Linked DNA regions of Homo sapiens: region 1 is linked to region 2. Evidence: promoter capture Hi-C in 16 types of primary human blood cells and fetal thymus (Javierre and others, 2016). All regions are on one chromosome and are shown on one strand. Each heading gives the region's core, a stretch centred on a gene start or on the middle of the fragment in contact. The rest is flanking DNA. Distances are from core to core; before and after follow the strand shown.

Region 1 (7,136 bases), core at 1,926-4,425, 1.5 Mb after region 2:
TAACCACTTTTCCTCTGGCCAACAGTAGGGCTCTTGTTGGAGCTGTTAGCTCTGCTTTCTGAGCAGATTTCCTAGCAGGCAGAGGCTGAGCCTCTACCACTGAGTCCCAGGTTACTACTGTATATGCAGGTTACTGGATCCCTTCTGAGATAAAACTGCTCCCATCCATGAAGTACTCAACATCTGGGCCAACAAGGGGCTGGTCTGTTAAGTCTTTTCAGCTACAGAATAATTCCTCCACTACATCCACACAATAGTGATAGGGAATGGAATCTTTTGGCCTTTTTATGGGTAGCAGAGTGGCTGGGTTTAAAGAAATAACAGTTCCTATGATTACATAAAGATTTTCAGATAAGAGTCCTTGATATCTATCTGGTAATTCTTGGGTTTGACAACCAATAATGTCCCCTTTGATCCATCAAGATGATAACTGTGTGGGGTACTCTGATGATTAGTTTTTGTCCTAAGGTCAATTTATTGGCTTCTTGTGACAAAAGGGTTGTAGCAGCTGATGTCTTAAAGCAAGGGGGCCAGCTTAGCACCAAAGGGTCCAGCTGTTTGGATAAATACACCGCTGGTATATGCCATGACCCCATCATTTGAGTCAGGATCCCTACAGCCACTTCCTTCCATTCATAGACATATAGGAAGAAAGGCTTAGTCTGATCTGGCAGTCCTAAGGCCAGGGCCTGGATTAAAGCCCTTTTGATCCCTTGTAAGCTTTTTCCTGATTGGCTTCCCAAAGAAGGGGCTCTTTTTCCCCACTCTGTGGCTTCATACAGCAATTTTGCCATAAGTAAAAAATTTGGAATGTAGATGTGGCAGAAACCTGCTGCTCCTAGGAATTCCCTTATTTGGCACCCAGTGGTTGGGATGGTACTGCACAAACAGTCCGCTTTCGCTCACTGCCAAGCTCACATTTCCCTTCACTTATTTCAAAACCTAGATATATGACTCCTTCTGAACAGATGTGTGCCTTTTTCTTGGATACTTTATATTTGGCCTTCCACAAAAGGTGGAGGAGTTTCTCAGTGCCCTGAAGGCAATCCACCTGAGTGGGGACCATAAATAGGAGGTTATCTATGAACTGCAGTCAGAAGCATTTGTCATTAGGTGGAATGAAAGCTCCTGAGATCTGATGCTAGCACTTCTCCAAAGATTGTAGGGGAGTTCTTAAACCCTCGTGGGAGCCTTGTCCAAGTATACTGTGTTTCTCCCCAATGAAATGCAAAGATAGGTCAGCTCACTGGCACCAGCTGGAGACAAAAGAATGCATCCTTTAGGTAGAAGAAAATAAACCAGGCTGCACTAGCTGGTATTTGTCCTAACAAGGTGTATGGGTTGGGCACTACTGGATAGATTGTCTCTGTGACCTGGTTTATGGCACGCAAATCCTGCACTGGCCCATATTCCCCAGATGGCTTTCATACTGGCAACAGAGGAGTGGTCCAAACTTATCTGCATTTAACTATGATTCTATTCTTGAAAAGCCAGTCTATATGCTTTTGAACACCTTGGATGGCTTATATGAAAATCAGTTACTGACAAACTCATACCAGGGTGGCTCCTGGTTTTAACTCTACTAAGACTGGTGCCTGATTTACAGCCAATCCAGGTGGATTGTTTTCCGCCCATACTCTAGGTATTTTGGTAACTAGCCCATACTTCTCAAGAGGTCCTAGCAGTCCTTGCTTAAGTGGTACTTGTGCATATAGCCTCCATTCCTCAGCTTTTGGCAGTGTGAGGGTTAACACCATAGCTTTTGGTTGACGTAAGTTTAAATACATATTTCCTTGTGGTGCAAAGGAAATGTGTGCCTGTAGTATTTGGAGCAAGTTTTTCCCTAGCAAAGAAACTTGACAATTTGTAAGGTATAGAAACTCATGGTGGACTTCTCATCCTCCAATAATGCAACCCCTTGACCAGCAAAAAGGCCTTTTTCTGAAACTCCAGATCCCCTGAAAATAGTGGTATAATTCTTAGATAGTAGCCCTATGGGTTGGGTAACTACTCAGTGTTTAGCTCTGGTATCTACCATAAAGTCCATCCATTGGTCCCCTCTCTCCACTGTGACCATAGGCTCCTGGTGGCCCAAAGAGATGGAGAAACAGTCTGTCTCAGTCCTCCACAGTCTCTGCCAGGCTGATCAAGTTGGCATCCGGTTTCAGAACACAATGACTTACAGCTGGTAGCTCTGGCCAAGCTCCCTGGTCACAGATATTGCCCTTATCCTTCTCTGGACATTCATCCTTCCAATGTGCTTTCTTTTTGCGTAATGCACACTAATCCCTCTCCAGCCTTCTCTGGCCTTCAAATCCGGGCCACTTTGACCTCTTCATAACCATGACCATGACCACATCCTTGTCCCCTTACAATGCTAGTTTCTATTTCAACAACGGCTGCCACCAGTAGCTCGGCCTTTTTCTTAATCATCTGCTTAGCCTCCTTCCTTTCCTCCTGATCGTGGTTAACACATACTTTGGTGGATACTTCTATTAGCTGGGTGGCATTCATGCCTGCAAAACCTTCAAGATCCCAAAGCTTTTGTTTAATGTCTGCCTGTGCCTGACTAACAAATGACATATTCACCATGCACTGATTCTCTCTGTAGCCTCGGGGTCAAATGGGCTATAGAGCTGGTATGCCTCACAGAGACTCTCATAGGACTGACTTGGGCTCTCATCAGCCTTTTTAAGGACCTCTGAAATTTTTCCTATGTTCATTGCCTTTTTCCCTTCAGCTTTTATCCCATTTAAGAGTGCTTCCTGATATCTCTGCAGGCAGAGCTGCTCTTTTGCCTCATTTGGGTTCCAATTTGGGTCTGTCTCTGAGAACTGTTCCTGGGCATACCACCAGACATCATGTGTGCCATCAGGTGCATTGTTCTCTATCCACTGGAGGGCCTCTTTGGACACCCTCTGATGCTCCTTTGTATTGAACCATGTCAGAAGGAGCTGCTGGCAGTCTGGCCAGGTAGAATTGCGAGTCAGAAAAATGGACCGCAACAGGTCTATTACAGACTGGGGCTTCTCTGTATAGGATGGAGTATGCTGTTCCCCATTTAGGTGGTCTGTGATGGAGAAAGGCTGGTAGACAAAAATTCACTGCCCACCCCGGACCCGGCCTTGTTCATAATAATACGTCTGTGCTCGAGTCTCATGGAAGAGCATTTGCAAGGCTTGGGTGCAGCCTGACCAGAAGTGGCTTGCTGTTTAATCCTGCCTTTCCTCTTTGGTTTTTATGGGCAGGGGCTCAGGATCCCCTCCATGGGGTTATGCTGCTTGAGACTCACTTTTCTCTGAGCCTGATTCCTCGAGGGCCATTTGCTTTCTGCCTTGTCTTAGCCCTGACAAGGATGGGTGTATTGGAGCATAAGAAGGAGGAAACTTTCTTTCCTTGGAAAGCGTTTGGAAGACTGTTTTTTCCTGACTACTCTGTTGCTTTTTCTTCTCCTCTGAGGCTCCTATTGAGATAGACTTCTCAACTTCCTTAGGTATAGCTCAGGCTACCAGAGACTTACAATAACTTGTCAAATAAGGTTGTATCCATTTGGGATGTGTTAGAACCATGTTCAACCAGGAATCAATATATGGGAACTGATCTAGATTCCCAGGCTGTTCTCCAACCCCTGTCACTTCCTTAAACACATGGCCAATTTCTTCCCTATCTATTGTGTCTTTGGCAGGCCACACAACATTAAAAGAAGGCCAGTCTAATTCACAGAGAGTTCTCAACCTTTGGGGGGTCAGTTTTACCCCATAATCTCCTCCAAAGCGTTTCCCAGAATTATTTAACATGCACTCCAATGGAGAAGCTTTTGATGATTTTCCTCCCATTCCTCCTTTTATGACACACACTCACTCTACCTTTTGTTACAGACTGATCAGACTGGTTCCTATTACGGGAATTTCATGCACTGCTTAGCTAGGACAGTATCGTATTCCCACTGCAGCTGCTGCAGCTGTAGGGCAGCTCCTGTCAGCCTTATACAGATCGCTCTAGATCTGGTCAGCCACACACTGGCTCCAGAGCCCACAGTCCACATTAAGAGATCTGTGCCTTCACCTGTCATGCCCCATGTTGGCCCTTCCCAGAACTGTCTCTTTAATGTGCTTTCACATGCCTCTTCACTCCCAGTTCACGTTTTTTAATTAGGGTGGCAACTCATTCTTGCTACGTCTAGTTTCAGTTTTTATTTTCCTAAACTGACTTAGTGAGCCTCTTTCATGTGCTGTGACAGTTAGGTTGTAAGTTTCATCCAAACTGGCAGGTCACTCCCACTTTCCTCAGCCCCTCTGTGTTAGACGAGTAGTCACACCCTGGGAAGTGATTAGGCCCCCGTTTCATCCTTATGGGATGGGTCTTGACTTGGGGCTTCAGGCCTTACCACGTTTTTGAAGAATGCACGCAGCTCCTGGAATTGTCCTGTAGCCCCTTTGCCAGTTCCATTGTGCTGTTAGGGAAGGGCACCGGGATGCAGGAGAGCTGGTCTCCTCTCCAGTCTGAAGTTCTCCTGTCAGTGCCTAGGATTTCAGGTATCCCCTGCTCTTGGGCTCCAGTCCTATGGGCAAAGGAGACAGAACATTTGCCATCTCCAATCCTGGATGAGCCCCTAGAAAATGTTACAGGAAATCAGAGACTGGAGAGACTGATGGGGTCAAAGGACGATTTATTATTTAAGGTATACACTGGCTCAGTGGACTAGTGTCCAGAAAGTCTGAGCACCAAACAAACAAGGCAAGTATCTTTTATGCAGTTTTTGTTTTTTGACGCAGAGTCTCACTCTGTCACCCTGGCTGGGGTGCAGTGGTGTGATCTCAGCTCACTGCAAGTTCCACCTCCCGGGTTCACACCATTCTCCTGCCTCAGCCTCCTGAGTGGCTGGGACTACAGGTGCCTGCCACCATGCCTGGCTAAGTTTTTGTATTTTTAGTAGAGACGGGGTTTCACCTTGTTAGCCAGGATGGTCTTGATCTCCTGACCTCGTGATCTGCCTGCCTCGGCCTCTCAAAGTGCTGGGATTATAGGCATGAGCCACTGCTCCCGGCCTTTTATGCATCTTAAGGCAGGCAGTACATGAGGCAGGAAGCAGGCTTACAGAAGCGAGAACAAAAGCAGTTAATCATCTGTGACACGTCTTACATCTTTGATAAAACATGTTTTACAGCTAGTGGTTATCTATCTTGTGACCTTTCAGCTGTTCAGCAGTAAAACAGAAACTTAGAGAACTTACAAAATATGCAGAGGGTAGATATGGTTAATATTTCACAGAGAAGTAGTTAGTATTCTTTCTTAACTCGTACTTTGGAAGGGGGCTATTTGAGGCCTATTCCATCCTAACTCTAACAACAATTTTTAAGCAAGCTTTAATTTTCTTTTAATTTTCTACTTCACATTCCTTTTCTTTTCTCTAACCTTGTCTTCATGTTTTATTTCAGTAAGCTCTTCTTCAACCTCTAATATCCTTTCTTCCACCTGATTAATCTGGATATTGATACTTGTGTATGCTTCACAAAGGTTTTAGCACTGTTTTTCAGCTCCTTCAGGTCATTTATATTCTTCTCTAAACTGGGTATTCTAGTTAGCAATTTCTGTCACCTTTTATAAAGGTTCTTAGCTTTCTTGCATTGGGTTAGCACATGTTCCTTTAATTCAGAGGAGTTTTTTATTACCCACCTTCTGAAGTCTACTTCTATCAACTCATGAAACTCATTCCCCATCCAGTTTTCTGCCCTTGCTGGAGAGGAATTTCAATCATTTGGAGAAGATGAGGTATTCTGGTTCCTTAAATTTTCAGCATGTTTTTTGTTTTTTTTTTCTTATCTTCATGGATTTATCTGCCTTTGCTCTTTGAGGCTGATGATCTTTGGACAGGTTTTTTTAGTGGGGGTCCTTTTGTTGATGGTGATATTGTTTCTTTCTGTTTGTTTTTTTCTAACGGTCAGGTCCCTCTTCTGCAGGTCTGCTGCAGTTTGCGGGAGGTCCACTCCAGACCCTGTTTGCCTGGGTGTCACCAGTGGAGGCTGCAGAACAGAAAGGATTGCCACCTGCTCCTTCCTCTGGAAGCTTCATCCCAGAGGGACACTGGCCTGATGCCAGCCACAGCTCTCCTGTACAAGGTGTCTGTCTACTCCTGTTTGGTGGTATCTCCCAGTTAGGAGTCATGGGTGTCAGGGACCTACTTGAGCAGGTAGTCTGTCCCTTAGCAGAGCTGGAGCACTGTGCTGGGAGAATCCTTCTTGACAGATGCTGCTCTCTTCAGAGATGGCAGGCAAGAATATTTAAGTATGCTGTTGCTGGGCACATAGCCAGCCCTTTCCCCATGTGCTCTTTTTCCACGGAGATGGGAGTTTGTCTATAATCCCTTGAATGGGGCTACTGCCTTTCTTTCAGAGATGCCCTCCCTAGTGAGGAGGAATCTAGAGAGTCAGTCTGGCCACAGCCGCTTTGACATGCTTTGGTGAATTCTGCCCAGTATGAACTTCCTAGCCTCCTTAGCACTGTCAGGGGAAAACTGTCTACTCCATCCTCAGTAATGGTGGATGCCTCTTCCCCAACCAAGCCTGATCATCCCAGGTTGACTTCATGCTGCTCTGTTGGCAGCAAGAATTTCAAGCCAGTGGTTCTTAGGGTGCTGACTCCATGGGAGTGGGACCCACTGAGCAAGACCACTTGGCTCTCTGGCTTTAGCCCTCTTTCCAGGGGAGTAAATGGTTCTCTCACTGGGGTTCCAGGTTCCACTGGGAAAAACAAACAGACAGACAAACAAACAGCAACAACAAAAACAAAAAAGCTGAAGCTAGCTTGGTGTCTACAGCCACCCAGTTTTATGCTTGAAACCGAGGGCCCTGGTGGTGTAAGCACACAAGGGAATTTTCTGCTCTCTAGATTGAAGATCCCATGGGAAAACTGTAGTATCTGGGCCAGGTAGCACAGTGTTTCATGGCTTCCTTGGTAGGGCAGAGATTGGTTCCTGGCTTCTTGTACTTCTCTGGTGAGATAATGCCCTCTCTTGCTTTCTGCTCACTGTCCATAGGCTTCGCCCACTGCCTAAACATTCCCAATGAGATTAACTGGGTACCTCCTTTGTAAATGTAGAGATTATCCATTCACTTTCTGCATTGGTCTCAATGGAA
Region 2 (7,507 bases), core at 665-3,164:
GAGACTCTGTTTCAAAAAAAAAAATTCATTCATTAAATATGTGAGTACGAGAAGACAAAATGGGAAAGGTACTGTCATTTTGATAGTTCTAACCTGAAACTATTGAACAGCGAAACAATGCATCATTCTTCCTCAGATATTTAAAGCCTTTGTGTTCTACCATTTTTGTGGACATAAATTATGTATTTTATAGAAGACTTTCTCCAAAATCAGTATTCTGGAAAATGGTGGAGTTCGGGTTCAAATTCAATACATTAGATTTCAAAACTTAAGTTCTACATTATTATGAAACTACAACGGCAAGATTAAAGATCAGATTCCTTTAAAAAAAGTGTGCCTCCCAATCTTACCTCCAGTTCATTTAGCCTTTGGACGCGAGGAGTAAATCTGAAATTGTCAACTTCTACTGCAAAAGGAGGCTGCCAATCCTAGAAGAAAGTGTAAGGACCTGGTAACTATGGCACAGTAAAGGATGAAGATAGTGAAAACCACAATCATTTGTTCCCACTCTTTTAAAGTCTTCTGGTAACCATTTTTGTACACAAGGGCCTCAAATGATTCCTTCTTCATAATCAAGATTAACTGCAAAAAAAAAAAAAAAAGGAAAAACCCTGCAAATCCAAAACTCTCCTTGATATGTGTCCTTCGTAACAGACGAAAAAAAAAAAAAAAACCTCTATAATCCCAAGGCTAGAAAGCGACTCGACTTCCAAGGAATGACGCACATCTGAACAAACACTATGCTATTTGGGTTATGAGTCCTTACTAAAATGAAGATAAATGTAATGCAGATAAAAAATTGTTTCACTTTTTAAAACCTAAGCCATTATCTCTTCCCACTCCCAGCAGTACGAAAAAGTTTAATTGCAAATGCTGAGAAGTGCGAACATCCACATAAAAATAACGTTGCAGCCTGGTTCAATATATGAGAAAAAAGCTGTATGCTCTGCGAAAACTTTTTGACTTCTCTGAATATTGTGTTAGTTGTTCACGACGACAGCCCAGGCTTATTTCAGTTTACATTCTTAATTCAGTCAAACTTCTACGAGGTTCATTTAGTAGTTTTCAGTATAGCAACCCAAAATGGTCTACGTTTAATAATAAATTTAATTGATGGCAAAGGATGCCACATCACTCCCATTATTTGCTATATTTGCTACATACATCTAAGGTCATATCAAAGAAAGAAAACACCAGTCCAAGTGGTTAACACACAAGCTTATATAACTTGCTTCTGTCATAGATCAAGTACTTCTGAGTAAGCTATTTTTTTGCGGTTAAATGTAATAAAAGCTTGTGTATGCCTAAACTATATTTAATAACAGCAGAACGTAGAAATATTTGAATCTTATATTTTTGTCCCTACAGCAGTCAGATGTTTAGAACCCCGTGGAATGTGGCGATCTGATACTAATATTCTGATGCCAGCTTGTTCGGGTCAGAAAAGTTAAATGAGAAATTTGGTGCTAAGGGTTTCTGGTCATGAGTGTAAATAACGCCTCGCCAAGTGGTAAACTGCCCCAACGTTCAAACCAAAGGCTACCCATTCCCAAATTTTGTTTCAAAGACTTACCGCGGGTGGGCGGATTTTGCAGATGCCAGACTTCTCTGCTATGGGCCTTATTTTCGCAATGTAGCCAAGCGGGTCTTGGAATTCAGCCCAGCTAGGCTCAAAAACCGGGCACTCCGGTGGCGGCAGGAACTCGTCACACCCCGGTTCCATGTCGGGCCTTAATGCTAAGCTGTAAAATAAGAATCACATTGTCTTTAATGACGCGCTGGTTCCTCCTACTAAAAGGCCTATGAAAATTTCATTTTCTTGAGAATTTCAAGGTTACTTTAATCCCGTAGCTGCTTACCAATCGTCAGGGATCCTAGTTTTACAGCCACCATCTTGACCTCCGGGCCCTGCAGTGTGGTACGAGCCGTCTCACTCCGCGGATCGATTTTTCCGGCGCTATTTCCAAACCTGTGAGACCTTCCGCACCTGAGATAAACGCTGAGGACGCAAGAGCGATTTTACCAGAGGAAAACAGTCACAGAGCCGTCGCTGGACTCATATTAAACAGTACTGCGACAGAACGAAAAAGCAAGATAAAAATAGTATGGCCGGATCTTTTTTAAAATGGGACCACTGCGCAAGTTACGCCTGCGTATTGCAGGGAAGGACCGTAAAAGGCTGTGGTGCTGATCAACGAAGGATTTCTCGGAGAAAATTCCTCCTTTGCGGAAATGTCCGTAGAAACGCACCTTTTTTTTTTCCTGCCAGGACAAACCGCCGGCGATATCCGTTCATGTGAAAGTGTTTACTAACATTCTCTGAAGACTCACTGGGTTCTCAGCTCGAGAACGTTCCTGTCACAAGACGTTTAGGAGGCAGGATGCCGGTACAATGTATTTATGTTCTTGTAAACTGTTGCATTAACAGTGCACTTCAAGTGGGCACATTTGTCGTTGGATTTTTTACCAACTCGAGCTTGGACTTTAGGACGGGGAAAAGAAGTGCTAAATGTTTTTGAATAAAACCTTTACTGCACATGATAAACATCCCTTAAAAATTACCTAGGAGCACCCTAAATTTTAAAATGATCACAAAGACCTGGACAGATTACAGTAAACCTTCAACATCGCTAAACACACGTACCATAAATCAAAAGAAACACACTGCTAATGATCCGTTTTTTGATGTGGAAATATCATGCTGTTTTTAAGGGAAATTATACTTTATTGCGATGTTTTATTTCAAAACAAGATGTTACACTTTATTTCCTATAATTTTATTTACAATATTTTACACCCGTTAAGCAAAAATCCCCCTACATTGCTATTCTGTTTTTTTTTAATCAGTTCACTACTGTAGTATCTTTTTGTTCTCCATATATTTTTGAAAAATACGCAAAAGGTAAGTTTTAAAAATCAAATGGTAGATTTTATTTGGAAGGGCACTGCCAGAAGTGCCTTAAAGTTTGATAGTTTGACAATTGTTTCGTATTGTACGATTCTTGGCATTTCCGTTTTTTTTTTTAACAATTTATCCATTTCATCTAGATTATCGGCTTCATGAGTTTATTATACTACATTACATATATATTCCTGTTTCAAAAGTTGTTACTTAATTTTCTGCTTTCTTTTTCCTAGTTTTATCTACATACTTTTTCTGTTTCATAAAGTTAGAGTTATAGAGTTCTATTTCATAAAATTAGTTATAGAGCCTGTATTATTTCAAATGATGAGATCTTTTTTCTCTGTTCAAGATAATTCATTATAATACAGCTTTATATTTTATGAATTCATTAGTAAATAGATATTTCAATTTCTACTTTTAGCTATTATAATGTTGCTATTAGCATTTGTGTACCGGTTTTTGTGTGCATGCTTAGTGTCATTTCTCGTGTGTATACACCTACAAGTAGAATTAGTGGGTTATATGGGAACTTTAGGTTTAAACTTTTCTTTTCCAAAGCATCTTCATCATTTAATTTCCATCTAAAGTGGAATACCGTTCTAGTTTCTTCATGTCCTCACCAATACTATAATTACATGACTTACTGATTTGACCATTACAATGTGTATGAGATCTCATAGAGTTTTGAGTTGGACTTCTTGAATTACTAATGATACAGTAGTGTTGAGCATCTTTTCGTAAGGTTGTTGGCTTGTTCATATGCTTTATATACCTTCTCTGGAGAAATGTCTATTCAAAATTTTTGGCTCTTTTCACATTGGTTTGTCTTTTTTTGTTTAGTTGTAATCTTATCTGATTCTTTTATCAAATATTTGATTTTTATAAAAAATAATTCTGTAAGCTGGCTTTTCTCTTTCCTAATAGTAAACTTTGAACAGAAAGATTTTTAATTTGATCTTTATCCAGTTTGCTTTTTTCTATTGTCACTTGTACTTTCAGTGTTGCCTCTGAGGGGATTTTGTCTAACCCAAAATCACAAGGATGTACTCTTCTCCTCTATTCTAGGACCTTTATAGTATTAGCTTCTACATTAAAGTCTTTGATACATTTTGAGTTAACTTGTGTAAACACTGTGAAGTAATGATCCAACTCAATATTTTTGCGTGTTGCCATCTAGTTGTCCCAGAATTTGTTGGAAACATTATTATTGCTTCATTAATTGTTCTTGGCACTCTTGATAACATTCCGTTGGCCATAAATGTATGGGTTTATTCTTGGACTCTCAATTTCGTTCCATATTTATATGTATGTATATATTCTAATGCCATATTGTTTTTATTGCTGTAGTTTGTGGAAGGTTTGAATTGGGAAAAGTGAGTAATCCCAACTTTCTTCTTGTTTTTTTCGAGACTGTTTGGCTATTATTTGTTTCTTGTATTTTTATTACCTTGCCTGTTTCTACAGAGAAACAAGCTGGGGTTTCAACAGACAAGCAAGCTGGGACTGAGACAGAAATGTTGAATCTACAGACAAATTTAGGAAATATTTCCATCTAAGTTTCCTATACATGGACAAAGCATGTATTTCAATTTATTTAGGTCTTCTTTGGTTTCCTGCAACAAAGTTTTATAGTTTTTGGTATTTTTTGTATATTAGTATTTAGTATGTATTATATATATTTGAAATTAATTTACTTCAGATTATCTTATTCTATTTCTGCTACTATGAATCAAATTTTTAAAAGATTTCCCCTATTAAGGGTTTGTTAGTGATACACAGAAATATGATTAATTTTTGTATGTTGATCTTGTGTTCTGGCACCTTGCTAACTTCATTTATTGTAATACATATATTTTTTAACTTTTAAGTTCAGAGGTTCATGTGCACTATATGATGGTTTGTTTTATAAGTAAGCCTGTGTGATAGGGTTCGTTGTACAGATTATTTCATCACCCAGGTATTAAGCCTAATATCCATTAGTTATATTTCTTGCTTCTCTCCCTCCTCCTGTGCTCCACTCACCCACTTATAAATGAGAACATGCAGTATTTGGTTTTCGGTTCTGGCGTTTGTTTGCTAAGGATAATGGTCTCCAGCTGTGTTACTGCAAAGACATGATCTTGTCTTTTTTTATGGCTGCATAGAAATCTATGGTGTATATTTACCACATTTTCTTTATCCAGTCTATCACTGACGAGCATTTGGGCTGATTCCATTGTCTTTGCTTTCGTGAATAGCTGCAGTGAATGTACATATGCTGTTGTGAATACCTGCAGTGAACATACATGTGCATGTATCTTTATAACAGAATGATTTATAATCCTTTGGGATATACCCAGTAATGGGATTGGTGGGGTTGAATGATAATTCTATCTTTAGGTCTTTGAGGAATTGCCACACTGTCTTCCATAATGCTGAACTAATTTACATTCCCACCAGCAGTGTAAAAGCATTTCTATTTCTCCAGAACCTCACCTGAATCTGTTATTTTTTGACTTTATAATAATAGGTATTCTGACAGGTTTGGGATACTATCTCATTGTGGTTTTGATGCGCATTTCTATAAGGATCAGTGATGTTGAGCTTTTTAAGATGTTTGTTGTCTACATGTGTATGTCTTGAGAATTGTCTGTTCATGTCCTTTGCCCACTTTTTAATGAGGTTCTTTGTTTTTTCCTTGTAAATTTGTATAAGTTCTTTGTGTATGCTAGATATTAGACCTTTGTCAGATGCATAGTTTACAATTTTTTCCCATTCTGTACTTTGTCTATTTAATTTGTTGATGGTTTATTTGCTAGTGCAGAAGCTCTTTAGTTTAATTAGATGTCATTTGTTAATTTTTTCTTTTGTCACAATTGCTTTTGACATCTTCTTCAAGAAGTCTTTACTCCTGCCTATGTTCTGAATGGTTTTGCCTAGATTTGCTTCTAGGGTTTTTATAGTTTTGGGTTTTACATTTAAGTCTTTAATCCATCTTGAGTTAATTTTTGTATATGGAGTAATAAAAAGGTCCAGTTTCAATTTTCTCTATATGGCTAGCCAGTTTCTCACAGCACCATTTATTAAATAGAGAGTCTTTTCACCATTGCTTTTGTAAATTTTCTTGAAAATCAGATACTTGTAAGCATGTAGTCATATTTCTGGGTTTTCCATTCTATTCCTTTGGTCTATGTGTCTGTTCTTTTATCAGTACCATGCTGTTTGGGTTACGGTACTTCTGTAGTGTAGTTTGAAGTTGGGAAGCATGATGAATTTAGTTTTGATTATGTTGCTTAAAATTGCCTTGGCTGTACAGTCTCTTTTTTGGTTTCACATGAATTTTAAAATAGATTTTTCTAGTTCTGTGAAGAATGTTAATGGTAATTTAATGGGTATAGCATTGGATCTATAAATTGCTTTGGGCAGAGTGGCCATTTAGTGATATTGATTCCGCCTATCTGTGAGCATGGAATACTTTCCATTTGTTTATGTCATCTCTTAGTTATTTGAGTAGTGATTTGTATTAATAGTTCTTCCTGTACAGGTCTTTCACTTCCCTGGTTAGCTGTACTTTAGGTGTTTTATTCTTTTTGTGGCTATGGTGAATGAGAGTTTGTTCATGACTTGGCTCTTGGCTTTACTATTGATGGTGTATAAGAACGCTAATGATTTTTGCACATTGATTTTGTATTGTGAGATTTTGCTCAAGTTGTTTATCAGCTTAAAAAGCTTTGGGGCTGAGATGATGGATTTGTGTGCATATAGAATCATATTGGTTGCAAACAGGGATAATTTGATTTCCTCTCTTCCTATTTCAATATCTTTTATTCCTTTCTCTGGCCTGATTGCCCAGAACTTTCAATACTATATTGGATACAAGTAGTGTCAGAGGACATCTTTGTCTTGTGCCAGTTTTCAAGGAAAATGATTCCAGCTTTTGCCTTTTCAGTATGATGTTTGCAGTGGGTTTTTCATACATGACTTTCATTACATTATTTTGAGGTATGTTCCAGATATGGCCCCGATAAGTGGAGTAGCACTAGGATCCTTATTCTTGCACTGAATTGAATAAAATGACACGGACACACGTGAGTGGTTTTAAGGAGTGGAAACTTTAATAAGAAAGAAGCAAGGAAGAAGCAAACAGGTACCCTTACAGATATGGAGTTGGGGAAGAGGGATTCTAACAAAGAGAAAATCCTGTGTGCAGAGAAAAGTTGCTGCTTATATGGGAAAGCTGGTGGAGGTGGTGTCTGATTTGCTTAGGGTTCAGGAGATTGGTTTGACCAGGCTTGCCATTTACATAGCCCAGAAAAAGTCTGGCCCTTCCACCCTAGCCTTTTAATATGCAAATGTAGGGCACCATGATGTTCTACACACATAGGGTATGTGGGGGTGGTCATTTTGCCAGGCACATGTAGGGGCAAGGAAGAAAAGGGCAGGAATTGTTATGTTTGGGTGGACCCAGTTTCTGATGGGCAGCATTTTCATATCATAGCTTGCTGCCCGGCTCTCTGAGCAGGGGCTATTCAGGTAGACAAGAAACATTTCTGGAGCTGCTTTCAAAGAAAAAAACTTCTGAAGGACCCCTTTCCCTCCCATCTGCTTATAGTAATTTTTTAA

What was found. Contacts are between HindIII fragments. The CHiCAGO score rates a contact against its expected background, and 5 or more counts as called.
Region 1: a contact is called between a fragment that was not itself captured here and the fragment with the promoter of KDM5D in region 2, in 1 of 17 cell types (activated CD4 T cells). The highest score is 6.0, in activated CD4 T cells.

What each region holds. Positions count from the first base shown.
Region 1 is chrY:21,244,590-21,251,725 of GRCh38, forward strand. It overlaps LOC107987346 (a long non-coding RNA gene), which reads left to right. Exons shown (of 4, transcript XR_007068467.1): 3 at 5,961-6,119. LOC107987347 (a long non-coding RNA gene) reads right to left here. Exons shown (of 3, transcript XR_001756079.2): 3 at 3,476-4,561. Among named protein-coding and RNA genes, the nearest start is that of PRORY, 200 kb to the right of the region's middle. The HindIII fragment of the contact is 1,273 bases long and covers 2,540-3,812 here.
Region 2 is chrY:19,742,812-19,750,318 of GRCh38, forward strand. KDM5D (lysine demethylase 5D) reads right to left here and starts at 1,915. Exons shown (of 27, transcript NM_004653.5): 1 at 1,860-1,915; 2 at 1,574-1,742; 3 at 351-428. The coding sequence starts at 1,723. KDM5D-DT (KDM5D divergent transcript) reads left to right here and starts at 1,974. Exons shown (of 3, transcript XR_938630.4): 1 at 1,974-2,902. The HindIII fragment of the contact is 5,320 bases long and covers 1,292-6,611 here.